4 separate regions of the Homo sapiens genome follow, and all the other regions are linked to region 4. The links are contacts of gene promoters, found by promoter capture Hi-C in blood cells and fetal thymus (Javierre and others, 2016). All regions are on one chromosome and are shown on one strand. Each heading gives the region's core, a stretch centred on a gene start or on the middle of the fragment in contact. The rest is flanking DNA. Distances are from core to core; before and after follow the strand shown.

What was found. The method cuts DNA at HindIII sites, captures the fragments that hold promoters and counts their contacts. A CHiCAGO score of 5 or more calls a contact.
Region 1: a contact is called between a fragment that was not itself captured here and the fragment with the promoter of PDE8A in region 4, in 2 of 17 cell types (fetal thymus and naive CD8 T cells). The highest score is 5.3, in fetal thymus.
Region 2: a contact is called between a fragment that was not itself captured here and the fragment with the promoter of PDE8A in region 4, in 2 of 17 cell types (fetal thymus and M1 macrophages). The highest score is 5.7, in fetal thymus.
Region 3: a contact is called between the fragment with the promoter of SEC11A here and the fragment with the promoter of PDE8A in region 4, in 2 of 17 cell types (monocytes and neutrophils). The highest score is 5.4, in monocytes.

Annotation. Positions count from the first base shown.
Region 1 is chr15:84,570,548-84,573,257 of GRCh38, forward strand. LINC00933 (long intergenic non-protein coding RNA 933) reads left to right here and starts at 102. Exons shown (of 4, transcript NR_038274.1): 1 at 102-187; 2 at 1,668-1,797; 3 at 2,475-2,704. It also overlaps the pseudogene UBE2Q2P1. The HindIII fragment of the contact is 4,246 bases long and covers 1-2,710 here.
Region 2 is chr15:84,619,827-84,622,814 of GRCh38, forward strand. ZSCAN2 (zinc finger and SCAN domain containing 2) reads left to right here. Exons shown (of 3, transcript NM_181877.4): 3 at 776-2,988. The coding sequence ends at 2,214. Among named protein-coding and RNA genes, the nearest start is that of ZSCAN2, 20 kb to the left of the region's middle. The HindIII fragment of the contact is 168 bases long and covers 1,477-1,644 here.
Region 3 is chr15:84,714,721-84,717,462 of GRCh38, forward strand. SEC11A (SEC11 homolog A, signal peptidase complex subunit) reads right to left here and starts at 1,419. Exons shown (of 6, transcript NM_014300.4): 1 at 1,305-1,419. The coding sequence starts at 1,355. RefSeq lists enhancers at 1,072-1,637, 1,093-1,162, 1,638-2,203, 1,833-1,952, 1,973-2,082 and 1 more. The HindIII fragment of the contact is 22,021 bases long and covers 1-2,742 here.
Region 4 is chr15:84,980,606-84,983,347 of GRCh38, forward strand. It overlaps PDE8A (phosphodiesterase 8A), which reads left to right and starts at 1,251. Exons shown (of 22, transcript NM_002605.3): 1 at 1,251-1,743. The coding sequence starts at 1,558. RefSeq lists silencers at 313-362, 683-1,172 and an enhancer at 900-1,432. The HindIII fragment of the contact is 13,609 bases long and covers 1-2,742 here.

The sequences.
Region 1 (2,710 bases), core at 29-2,528, 410 kb before region 4:
CTTCCTCTCCGCCCTCGCCCTGCCGTGTGAAGCCGCCGCTGGGCGCCTCACCGTGATGTTGCAGTGGAGCCTGAGCTGCCGCGGCGGCTCCTGGTTCTTGTGGAAAATAGAGGACAACAACTTCAGCTTGGCCTTGAACCCTGACACGGACATTTTACTCTCACCTCTGGCGGGAGGGGCGCGGAAGGTGAGCCGGTCGGGAGCCGCTGTCATGGCCGCGACCACCCGCGGGACCTCTCGGCGGCGCTCTCGCGGCTCCGCCTCTCCCCGCTGCCTCAACTCTAGTCGGAGTAGGGCTGGAAAATGGCAAGGGGCACCGAGGCCTCTGCGGGGAGCTGTGTGGCGGCCTGGGCGGCTGCTCCCCTTGTAACAGACTCCACCGACAGGAGGCGCTCCTCCTGTCAAGCCACAGCTTAAAAGGACAACAGCACCACCGCCCCCGCTACCGCCTGGGAAAGGGCTGCCCCTACCCCGCTCCCGTCCCTCTCGTCCCTCACCCCTCACCCCTCACCTCTCACCCCCGCGCGCCCGGTGCGCACCCGTTTCGGCGGGTGCACGAGTCCAGAGCATGTGCGCGCTTCCGGCTGCCCCCTCCTGGCTTTGACCCAGCACTGCTGGACCCATCTAGTCCGTTCCTCACACTCGCGGACTGGAAGCTCCAGGCTGCACAACCACCAACTGGTGTGTGTGTATTTAGGGGCGGGGGGAGGTACAAAACCACCAACTCGTGTGTGTGTGTGTGTGTGTGTGTGTGTGTGTGTGTGTGTGTCTCCCAAGGGAACAGCACTGCTGAGTTCAGGCTATCAGCTCATGGACTGTCAGCAAAATACAGTCACAAGAAGGCTATGTGCTGTTTTGTCTTTTGCAGTGATGTCATGTTGCTCATGTTTTATGTTTTTCAGAGTTCATTAGTTTCTTTTTGTTCTCAGTAATATCCAGCTCAATAGATTGTGTAAGTAGAATACCCCCAAACTGAAAGTCACCTACATAAAATATAGTGAAAAATATGTCACCCACTTAAACTATAGTTGAAAATATGTACTCATTAGTTTTGTGTAGCCAACACTGGATAATGGGTAAGGAAGGGCACAGGATCCCAGGGCTAGACTGCCTGGGTTCAAGTTCCGATTTAGCTGCTTGCTGGCTGTGAAATGCTTGACAGCTTTAAGCCTCAGTTTCTTTTTTTTTTTTTAACTTAATCCCAAATGTGATAGTAAGTCTCAGTTTCTTGATCTGAAAAACAGAAATTATTCAATGAGAGTCCATGTGAAAACTTTAAAGTTTTAAAGCCACTTTCTGGCTCAGGAAAGTCCTCAGCTTTAGCTGTTAAAGTTTTAAAAGCCACTTTAAAGTTTTAAAGCCACTGCCTGGCTCAGGAAAGCCCTCAGCTTTAGCCATTATTAGCTATGATTATTATTGTGCTGGCTACACATGCATTAATGAGGCAGGAAAATGCTCAAGGATAACAACCAAGTATCCAAATTATCTCATCAGACCGAAACAGATGCATATGTTTGCATGCTCATGTTTTAGCTCAGAGCCATTTGTCTAAAAGACTCTTGAACTCAGGGGTCCAGGCAGTATCAACTTTACTTTGCAGTGAAGCCATCACGTTTGTTAATCAATGAAAACGACATAATGCTCTTTTTTTTTTTTTTTTTTTTTAGCACCAACCATGTGCCTAAAGCTAACTGTGTCAAAAAGAGCATGCTTCGAGGGGCTGGAGTGAGCAATTCAACTTGTGGAGAAATAAGAAATAATAGTGTTGAGACAAGAAACATAAAACCGCAGGGTAAGGTAGGAATCACTGAAGGTCAGGCAAAGGAACTGGCATCCAGTAATGAGTCAGGCTTTGACGGCCTCTGGCCCTACAGATGGCTCTTTGGAGAGGAAAAAATTAAGCCAGGCCTGAGGCCACAGATCCTAAGGGACTGCTGGCAGCTCTAGGCTGTCTATGGAAGAGAAGCAGAGGGTGGCACCTGGTTGAAAGAGGGAGCTGGGGGGCATGGCTTGAGCCCGCATTTACAGATAGAGTCCCCTGATTCCTGCAACTGGGGAAGAAGAGCATGCCTGGATCAGGGGACCTCAAATCAGAACTCTTCCCACCCACACCCCTTCTTTTCAGGGCATCTTTCACTGCAAACAACAGATAAACTAGTTAGAAAGCTCAGCAGATTCTCAGGATGGTGCCTAGCGGGCAGGGCCTAGCTACCCTTTGACAGTGACTGAGGGTGATGCCACAGGCCCGTAAGCACACATTGGAAAATCTTTACATCCATGGACACGCCATGCCCCACAGAGACAGCTGTGCAGGGTTCTTTAGGTTTGGGGTGCTCTGCTGGCAGTTGCCTTATAAATATATAGGATTAAAATGGGATGCCCTGGAGCTTAGCTAACCTTTACACCCCACTCTAAAAGGAACGGACTGCTAGTTTTGTCTGCTTTATAAAAGATGGATCTGTCATTGTTTTTAGAACTTTTGGAGAAAGATTTCTTGGGAGGAAGCTATCCTGAACGCTTAGAGACTTTTCTCATTTACTGGCACACCAGCTTTAGAGTCCTAGGTCTTCATCCTGGCTCAGCCACCCTCCAGCTGTGTGAACTTTGAGAAGTTGCTTGACTACACTGAGTCTCGTTGTCACTATGAGTGGAGGTTGCTACGTTGCTACTGTGTGGAGCACCTACCCCCAAGCACTCTTATAAGGTGATG
Region 2 (2,988 bases), core at 311-2,810, 360 kb before region 4:
GGGACATGGAACCCAAATCTTTAAGGCTTTGAAATTCTGGGTGATTGCCACAAAGATTATGAGGCCTGACAACCAGTCAGAATGAAATAAGCCTGGGTTGGTTTTTTTTTTTTTTTTTTTCCATCAGCTTTTAGGTTCAGGGGTACATGTGCAGGATGTGCAGGTTTGCTACAAAGGTAAATGCGTGCCATGGTGGTTTACTGCACAGGTCATCCCACCACCTAGGTATTAAGCCCAGCATCCATTAGCTATTCTTCCTGATGCTCTCCCTCCCCCTCCCCCACAGGCCCCAGGGTGTGTTATTTCCCTCCATGTGCTCATGTGTTCTCTTCATTCAGCTCCTGCTTATAAGAGAAAAGATGCAGTGTTTGGTTTTCTGTTCCTATGTTAGTTTGCTGAGGATAATGGCTTCCAATTCCATTCATGTCCCTGCAAAAGATATGATCTCATTCTTTTTTTTGGCTGCATAGTATACCATGGTGTATATGTACTACATTTTCTTCATCCAATCTATCATTGATGGGCATTTGGGTTGATTCTATGTCTTTGCTATTGTGAATAGTGCAGCATTGAACATGTGTGTGCATGTATCTTTATAATAGAATGATTTATATTCCTTTGGGTATATTAAACCTGATTATTAAAGGCTTTGAGGATTTTCTAGCCTCTTTGTGTTCACTGGAAGTTTAATTTTTATAAATTTCCCCCTTCGTTTTCTTTTGTCATCATGACAGGGAGTTGAGTAGACATTGTATGTTTTTCTTCATTGTTTCAGATTTTGAGATACAGAGTGAAAATGGGGAGAACTGTAATCAAGACATGTTTGAGAATGAATCACGTAAGATATTCTCGGAAATGCCTGAAGGTGAAAGTGCTCAGCACTCCGATGGGGAAAGTGACTTTGAGAGAGATGCTGGCATCCAGAGGCTCCAGGGACACAGCCCAGGTGAGGACCACGGGGAGGTGGTTTCTCAGGACAGGGAAGTTGGCCAGCTCATAGGCCTGCAGGGCACCTACCTAGGGGAGAAGCCCTACGAATGTCCCCAGTGTGGGAAGACCTTCAGCCGGAAATCCCACCTCATCACACACGAGAGGACCCACACAGGAGAGAAATACTACAAATGTGATGAATGTGGAAAAAGCTTTAGTGATGGTTCAAATTTTAGTAGACACCAAACCACTCACACCGGGGAGAAGCCCTACAAATGCAGAGACTGTGGGAAGAGCTTTAGCCGGAGTGCCAACCTCATAACCCACCAGAGGATCCACACGGGGGAAAAGCCCTTCCAGTGTGCCGAGTGTGGCAAGAGCTTCAGCAGGAGTCCCAACCTCATTGCACATCAGCGCACCCACACAGGAGAGAAACCCTACTCGTGCCCCGAGTGTGGAAAGAGCTTTGGCAACCGATCCAGCCTTAACACGCATCAGGGGATCCACACTGGAGAAAAGCCCTACGAATGTAAAGAATGCGGCGAAAGCTTTAGTTACAACTCCAATCTAATCAGACACCAGAGAATCCACACAGGAGAGAAACCCTACAAATGTACCGACTGTGGGCAGAGGTTCAGCCAGAGTTCAGCCCTCATCACCCACCGGAGAACCCACACAGGAGAGAAACCCTACCAGTGCAGCGAGTGTGGGAAAAGCTTCAGCCGCAGCTCTAACCTGGCCACACACCGGAGAACCCACATGGTGGAGAAGCCCTATAAGTGTGGGGTGTGTGGGAAGAGCTTCAGCCAGAGCTCCAGTCTGATTGCACACCAGGGCATGCACACAGGGGAGAAACCCTACGAGTGCCTGACATGTGGGGAGAGCTTCAGCTGGAGCTCCAACCTCCTCAAGCACCAGAGGATCCACACGGGAGAGAAACCCTACAAATGCAGCGAGTGTGGGAAATGCTTCAGCCAGCGCTCCCAGCTCGTAGTGCACCAGCGGACCCACACGGGCGAGAAGCCCTACAAATGCCTCATGTGCGGCAAGAGCTTCAGCCGGGGCTCCATTCTGGTCATGCACCAGAGAGCCCATTTGGGAGACAAGCCCTACAGGTGCCCTGAGTGTGGGAAAGGCTTTAGCTGGAACTCAGTCCTCATTATACATCAGCGAATCCACACTGGGGAGAAGCCCTACAAATGCCCCGAGTGTGGCAAAGGCTTCAGCAACAGCTCTAACTTTATCACACATCAGAGAACTCACATGAAAGAGAAACTTTATTGAAGTGGCAAAGAGTGAAAGTGAGGGACTGGCCTGGAGTGGGAGTTGCCACACTGCCCCAACAGTGATTCCCTTTCAAAGAGCTGTGCTTCCTAAACATTCTGGGGGGTTTTGCCAGAGTCTTCCCCTTGCTCATCCTCATTTCCAGGACACTGTCATTTTAGTGGTCTGAGTCAAGTCCCGTATACATTCAAGAACAGGGCATAGGCGTGGAAGGTCTGGAAAGTTGGGTCTTTTTCCCTTACATTGGGTGACTTGATTGGCCCCCTCTCATGATTCCTCTGTGCCTCAGTTTCCTCTTTGGTAAAATGGGGGGAAATGTTTCTCCATGTGGAATGGAAGACAGCATGGCCCACAACGTGGGCCGAGTCCTCAGAGAAATACTGGAAATCATTGGTGTGGTTCTGGTTGTTTTGTTGTTTTGCTGCCACGTTGTTGGGCTAAGGTGCCTTCACCCCAAGCTGTTAGTGTTCCAGGGCACCCCAAGCTGTCAGTTAGAATCTGCTCTTCTGGCTTTGGTGTCTTGGGCTTTGATTTCAGGTCAAGATGGAGGGGCTTCTCCAGTTCTGAGTCACCCACGTGAAGGTAAAGACCCTTTCTATTTCCAGAAAGTGTCAGGAGCACAGAAACTTGAGGAAGTACAGCCTGGAGCCAGTGTCCCAGTGTCCTTTCCATTGGTAAGAGTTGGACAGGGCCTTCAGGAAAGGGGTAAACCGAGGACATTTCAGTGCTTGCTTTTGTCTCTGCCTACTGTCCTGTGGTAGATCAGCTACCAGG
Region 3 (2,742 bases), core at 169-2,668, 270 kb before region 4:
CGTTACCTACCTTACAGGTGTATAAAGTGCTTCACACATGGCAAGAGCTCAAAAAAGTTATTGTTTTGCCTTAGTCCTTTTCTACACATTTAGGCTCCTTGAAGGCCGAGTCTTTCTTAACTATCTTTGCATTTCTCTCATTGTACCTAGCATAGAGTACAATAAATATCAGACTCAAAATAAATACTTTCCTCAGAGAAATATCTGTGGCATCTAGAAATCCAAATATGGATTAAAAAAAGACAACACTATACAAGTAAAAATTTGAAGTGTTGTCATAAAGACATAAAGTAACGTTTGCGCAATTTTTATAGAATGCTCAATTCTGACTGACAGAATTGACACTGAGCTAGCTAAGGCCTGAAGGGGAGTAAGGAAAGGTTGTGTATCTACTTCCCTAAGTGGCAGTTATAAGTACAAAAAATGCAAGTCCAAGGAAAAAAAATCCTTAATGGTGACATCAGGATAATCATAACAGTAAAATACTGTTTAAAACAAAAAAAAAGTCCGATGCAGCAAAACTAGGCTCTACAGACACACTAGGCGCAAAAGATAAAACAGAACAACCTTTTCTAAGGACTAAATAATTACAACAATATTCTCAGTACTATTTGGCATACGATCTAGAAGATCAAAGTAAAGTGTAAGGACAAAATCAGGAGACCTACATTTCCAGATCCCCGTGGCACTGATATTGGACTGTAAAACCATAGATTCCGAGGGCTGCCGCCTTAGTGCTAAGCGGACGCAAGGGCAAGTAGTGTAACTGTTCCAACTCGGAGCCCAGAGTGGTCCAAGTCAAAGTCGGTGCAGCCCGCTACGGTTCAGCTCTACTAAAGGGTTGCAAGGAGCTGAAAGCAGCAAAACGGTTTTTGTGGGGCCTCCAATCGCCTTCCTGAGCGCCCCAGAAACCGGCTAAACCTCGTCTCTCCCGAAACCACCTGGAGTCGCTCCGACTGGAGAAATCAAGAGTCCGCCGCCTTAAAATGACTAAAACAATAAGCAACCCCAACTCCCACTTCAAGCGCGTACGGTTTCCATTTGCTCCCCTGCCTCAGTGGGAGGAATGGAACGTGAAGACACCGCTTCCCGCCCCGCCCCCGGTAGGCCCTGAATCAGTTCGGGGTTAAAAATAATGAGGCGGACAAGGCGGCCTCTGGCCACAGTCTCCAAAGAAAGCGAATGACCCGGGTATCAGACCAGCTCAGACCCTCACACCAGAACCCTGGGGTCCGCCGGGCCCCGCAGCAGCAGCCTCGAAGGGACAAGAAGAGCCAGGAGAAAAAGAGGACGGACAAGCTCACCTGCCGCTTGTTCATCCGCCGCACATCGTCCAAAAAGTCTAGAGACAGCATGGCGGGGACGGCGAGCAGGACACCGGCAGGGGAAAGGGCGCGATGACCAGCGGGCGGAACTACTGGAGCTCGGGTCGGGCTCACACTGGACAGGACCCCGCAGTGCTTGCACTTCCGCTTCCGGGGCGGGAGCTGGCACGGTCGGGCACGGTCCCCGCCCCCCGCGCCCCTTCGCTGCGGAGAGCTGACAGAGAGACTCACGACCTTGCTAGTCCAGTCTCAGGGCTTGGCCTCGCCGTGGGAGGGTTCTCACGCTCTGGCTCTCGCCTGCCAAAAACCGACTGGACGCCACTTCCCGCGCTCGGCCCCGCGGCCCTTCACCGAGGCGGCGACCCAGGCTTAGTTGGGGAGGCTGCTCTGCCACCTTCGGAAGGCGGGCCTCTGTGCCCGCCCGGCCAATCGCGAGCAACCTCTCCGGTGTGGGCGGGTAGAAGCGGTTCCGCGTCCCGGCTTGGGTATGGGTGTGGCAGTGGATGTGTCGTCTGACCGTAGGTTCTCTGGTCGAGCAAGTCTCCTGCGCTATGGGAAGCTGAGGAGGTGCTTTCTTTCTTTCTGTCTCTGTCTCTCTTTCTTTACGTCTCTGTCTCTGTTGAGGTGCTTGCTTGCTTGCTTGCTTACTTTCTGTCTGTCTGTCTCTTTCTCTTTTTCTTTCTCTTTCTCTCTTTCCTTTCTTTCTCACTGTGTCGCCCAGGCTGGAGTGCAGTGGCGCAATCTCAGCTCACTGCAACCTCCGCCTCGCGGGTTCAGGCGATTCTCCTGCCTCAGGCTCCCAAGTAGCTGGGACTACAGGCGCGCGCCACCAAACCTGGCTAATTTTTGTATTTTTAGTAGAGACAGGGTTTCACTATGTTGGCCAGGCTGGTCTCGAACTCTTGAGCTCAGGTGATCCGCCCGCCTTGGCGTCCCAAAGTGCTGGGATTACAGTCGTGAGCCACCGCGCCCGGCCATCGAGGTGCTTTCAATAAGTGCTTTTCGCGTAAGGTTGGACCGTGTGAGAGACCTTCCGAGCACTGCCTGAGCCTGCCAGGAGTTTACAGTCCAATTGGAGAGAAAACAGCCCGGGAGAATTAGAAAACATCCAAATGGTGCAACAGCGTGATGAGACCACCAGTGGTGTGGGTCGTTAGGAAGTGGCTTCCTTTCTGACCTTGACTTTGCTGACAGGATTTGACATGGTCTCCTTGAATTCTACCTCCTGGTTTTCTTAACTTGGACACCTTGAAGTGACTATCTTTTCGCTACCTTTTGCTTTGACTGGCCAAAGCTCCTAATACGCACTTCAGTCAACAAAGACTAAAGCTGGATTACTTGGTATCATTTCTCTCTCTTTTTTTTTTTTTTTTTTTTTTTTCAAAATAATCCTTCTCTCCCATTAGGGAAAGATGAA
Region 4 (2,742 bases), core at 1-2,500:
CAGCCCGCTACAGGATACGTGATGGACGCCCAGAGACACCGCCCTCCAGCTGGTGGGGGAGGAGCCCCAGCCACCAAGAAGTTAAGTGACTGGCCCAGTTCACACAGCAAGCTAGTGGCTGTGTGCGTGTCCGGGGTCCTCATGGGCCCCAGGCCTGCAATGCGTACGCCCCTTCCCCTGGCTCTGCCTTTGGGGTCTCGGACGCCCGACTAGCACTTTGGTTAAAATGAGAGGAGGACGGGCGCCTGCAGCCTGCCCGGTGCTGTAGCTTTGCGGCCGCCCCGGCGCCTGTGTAATCCGAGGCGTGGCGCGCCAGGTTTTGGCCTGCGAGGGAGCGCACGTGGGCTGCGGCTTCTCGCGGACGCCCAGGCCCCACCCACCCGGGACCCGGCGCGCGGCGCCCCAGTTTGACTTTCACTACCCCCAAAGGAGGTCTTTCCACCGGCCTCTTTTCTGGGTAACAGCTCCAGGGCTCACACTTGGTGACCCCACCGAGGTCAAGTAGCCGCTAAGTTACGGAGCCGGAATTCGAATTTGGCGGTCGGGCTTCTGGTGGCCTCGGGACGGAGGTGGCTGTGTGTCCCTGGGCAAGTCTCTTTCCTTCTCTGGGTAGCCCAGTCGGGCGCCCCGCCTGTCGTCGCCGCGCATGCTCAGTTGCGGGCGGCGTCCGGAGGAGGTGGCGGGCGCCCCAGCTGCTTTGCATTGACGCCAGCACCCGCTGGAGGTCACCGCTGGGGGCTCGGCGCGGCACGCTGCCGGCAAAACCCGGCCCGGATCACGGAGCCGGAGCCGGAGCCGTACCGCCAGCAACTCCTGGGTGCGCGCAGCCGTTTCTGCGCTTCTCGACGGTGCGGCCCCAGGCCCCGCTGGAGCCGAGCTGCTCCCCTCCCTACCCTGGCGGACGTGGCCCGGCCGCTCCGAGGGGTTTCCCTCGGACCCCGCGCCTAAACCCCGGCCAGCGGGAGCGTCTAAGGCTAGCCTTGTACCCCACCGGCACTCGGCCTGGGGGGGCTTTTCCGCGAGGCGGCGGCCCAGCGGGCGGAGCGGCGTGGGTGTCCACATCTAGGCGGAGTCTGGAGCCGGGGAGGCGGCGGCGGCGGCGGCGGGAGCGGGGCCGGGCGCGGCCGGGAGCTCGCCTCCCCCGGGGGTCGTGCCGCAGCTCGGCGAGGGCAGCGTGGCTCGCGCGGCGTGGACTCAGCCGCTCCTGGGTAAGGAGAGCGCAAATCTCCTCCCCCTATTTCCCCGGAAGCGCGGCCGAGGCGAGCCCGGCGATGTGAGAGGCGGCCGTCGGCTCCTGCCTCAGGAAGGGCATGTTCGGAGGGGCGGCCTCGGCACGCCACCCGCCTAAGCGCCCCCTTCCCACCGCAGCCGCCGCCGCCGCAGCGCCCGCACCGCGATAAAAGGGGCGGCCGCGTTTCCTGACGCGAGATCCGCGCTCGCCGCCGCCCGCCCAGGCGGCGATGACACGGCGCCCGCGGCGGCCCGGAGGCGCCGGGTGGGCCGTTTGCTGACCGGATCGCGGCTACCCGCCAGCGTGTCCGCGGCGCCGCCGCCAGCATGGGCTGTGCCCCGAGCATCCACATTTCCGAGCGCCTGGTGGCCGAGGACGCGCCTAGCCCCGCGGCACCGCCGCTGTCGTCCGGCGGGCCGCGCCTCCCGCAGGGCCAGAAGACGGCCGCCTTGCCCCGGACCCGCGGCGCCGGCCTCTTGGAGTCGGAGCTTCGCGACGGCAGCGGCAAGAAGGTAAGGGGCGCCGGGCACTCTGGGGCCGCCGCGAAACTCGGGCCCGGCCAGTAAGCAACTTTCCCGCAGGGGCCGGGCGGGGTCCCCCCCACCCGGCCTCGGTGCCCTCTTGTCCCGCTTTGGATGGTTCTGATTGACGCCAGTCTCCCGCCTTGCCGGGGCAGCGTTCAGAGAAGGACCGACCCAGGTCCCGCGACCCTGATTTCCTAGGGTTGCGATTAGGACGCCGCCTGTGTCGCGGCGTCGGTTTTTTGGACACATCCGACTCCCGGAGCGGCGGGGCCCGATGTGAAGTTGACTGAGGCGCTTGCATCAATTTCCTCTCCAAGAGCGGGTGTTTGAGGGAAACCCCCAGGATATTCTGGCGCGCCCCTGCAATGTTAAATCAGTGTGAACTTTGTTCTTTTCCTGTGGTAGAAAGGGAAGGGCGACTGGCCTCACCACTCTTTTCCCTCTGTCAGCTTTGCACATGCAGTTGCAGGTTACCATTTTCTTCGGGACTGCTAGAATGTAATCTGGAACATCAGCTTTGCTTCATTGCACATGTATTTGAGGTCCACGTTTATTAGCATACATACTGTATTTAAAGCATATGTAATTAGAAAATACTGTGAAACGCGATTTTTGAAGCATTCAGCAGAACAAAGTTAATCTTTTATTAAGCCGACTTACTGGGACATTTTGTGACTGGGGTTTTTTGTTTTTTTACATTGCGTGTCTTCTCCAGCGCATGTTGCCTTGGCTTATGTTTTGTCAAAGTTTCTGGGCTTAGTCTTTGTTGAGGTTTTCTAAAGGAAAGTTAAAAAGGAAAAAGAAAAACGTGATCATTAAGGCACACAGCAGCAGCTTTCCAGTTCTCTCATTTCAGAATTTAAAGCTGGAACTCATGCGTTGGTTTATGTTTTGTTAAACCAGTAAAAGACAACAACAACAAAATTCGTGCATGGCTGCAGATTGTTGGCTGTCATCCCTCTCATCACGACCAGTTTTTGAAAGAGT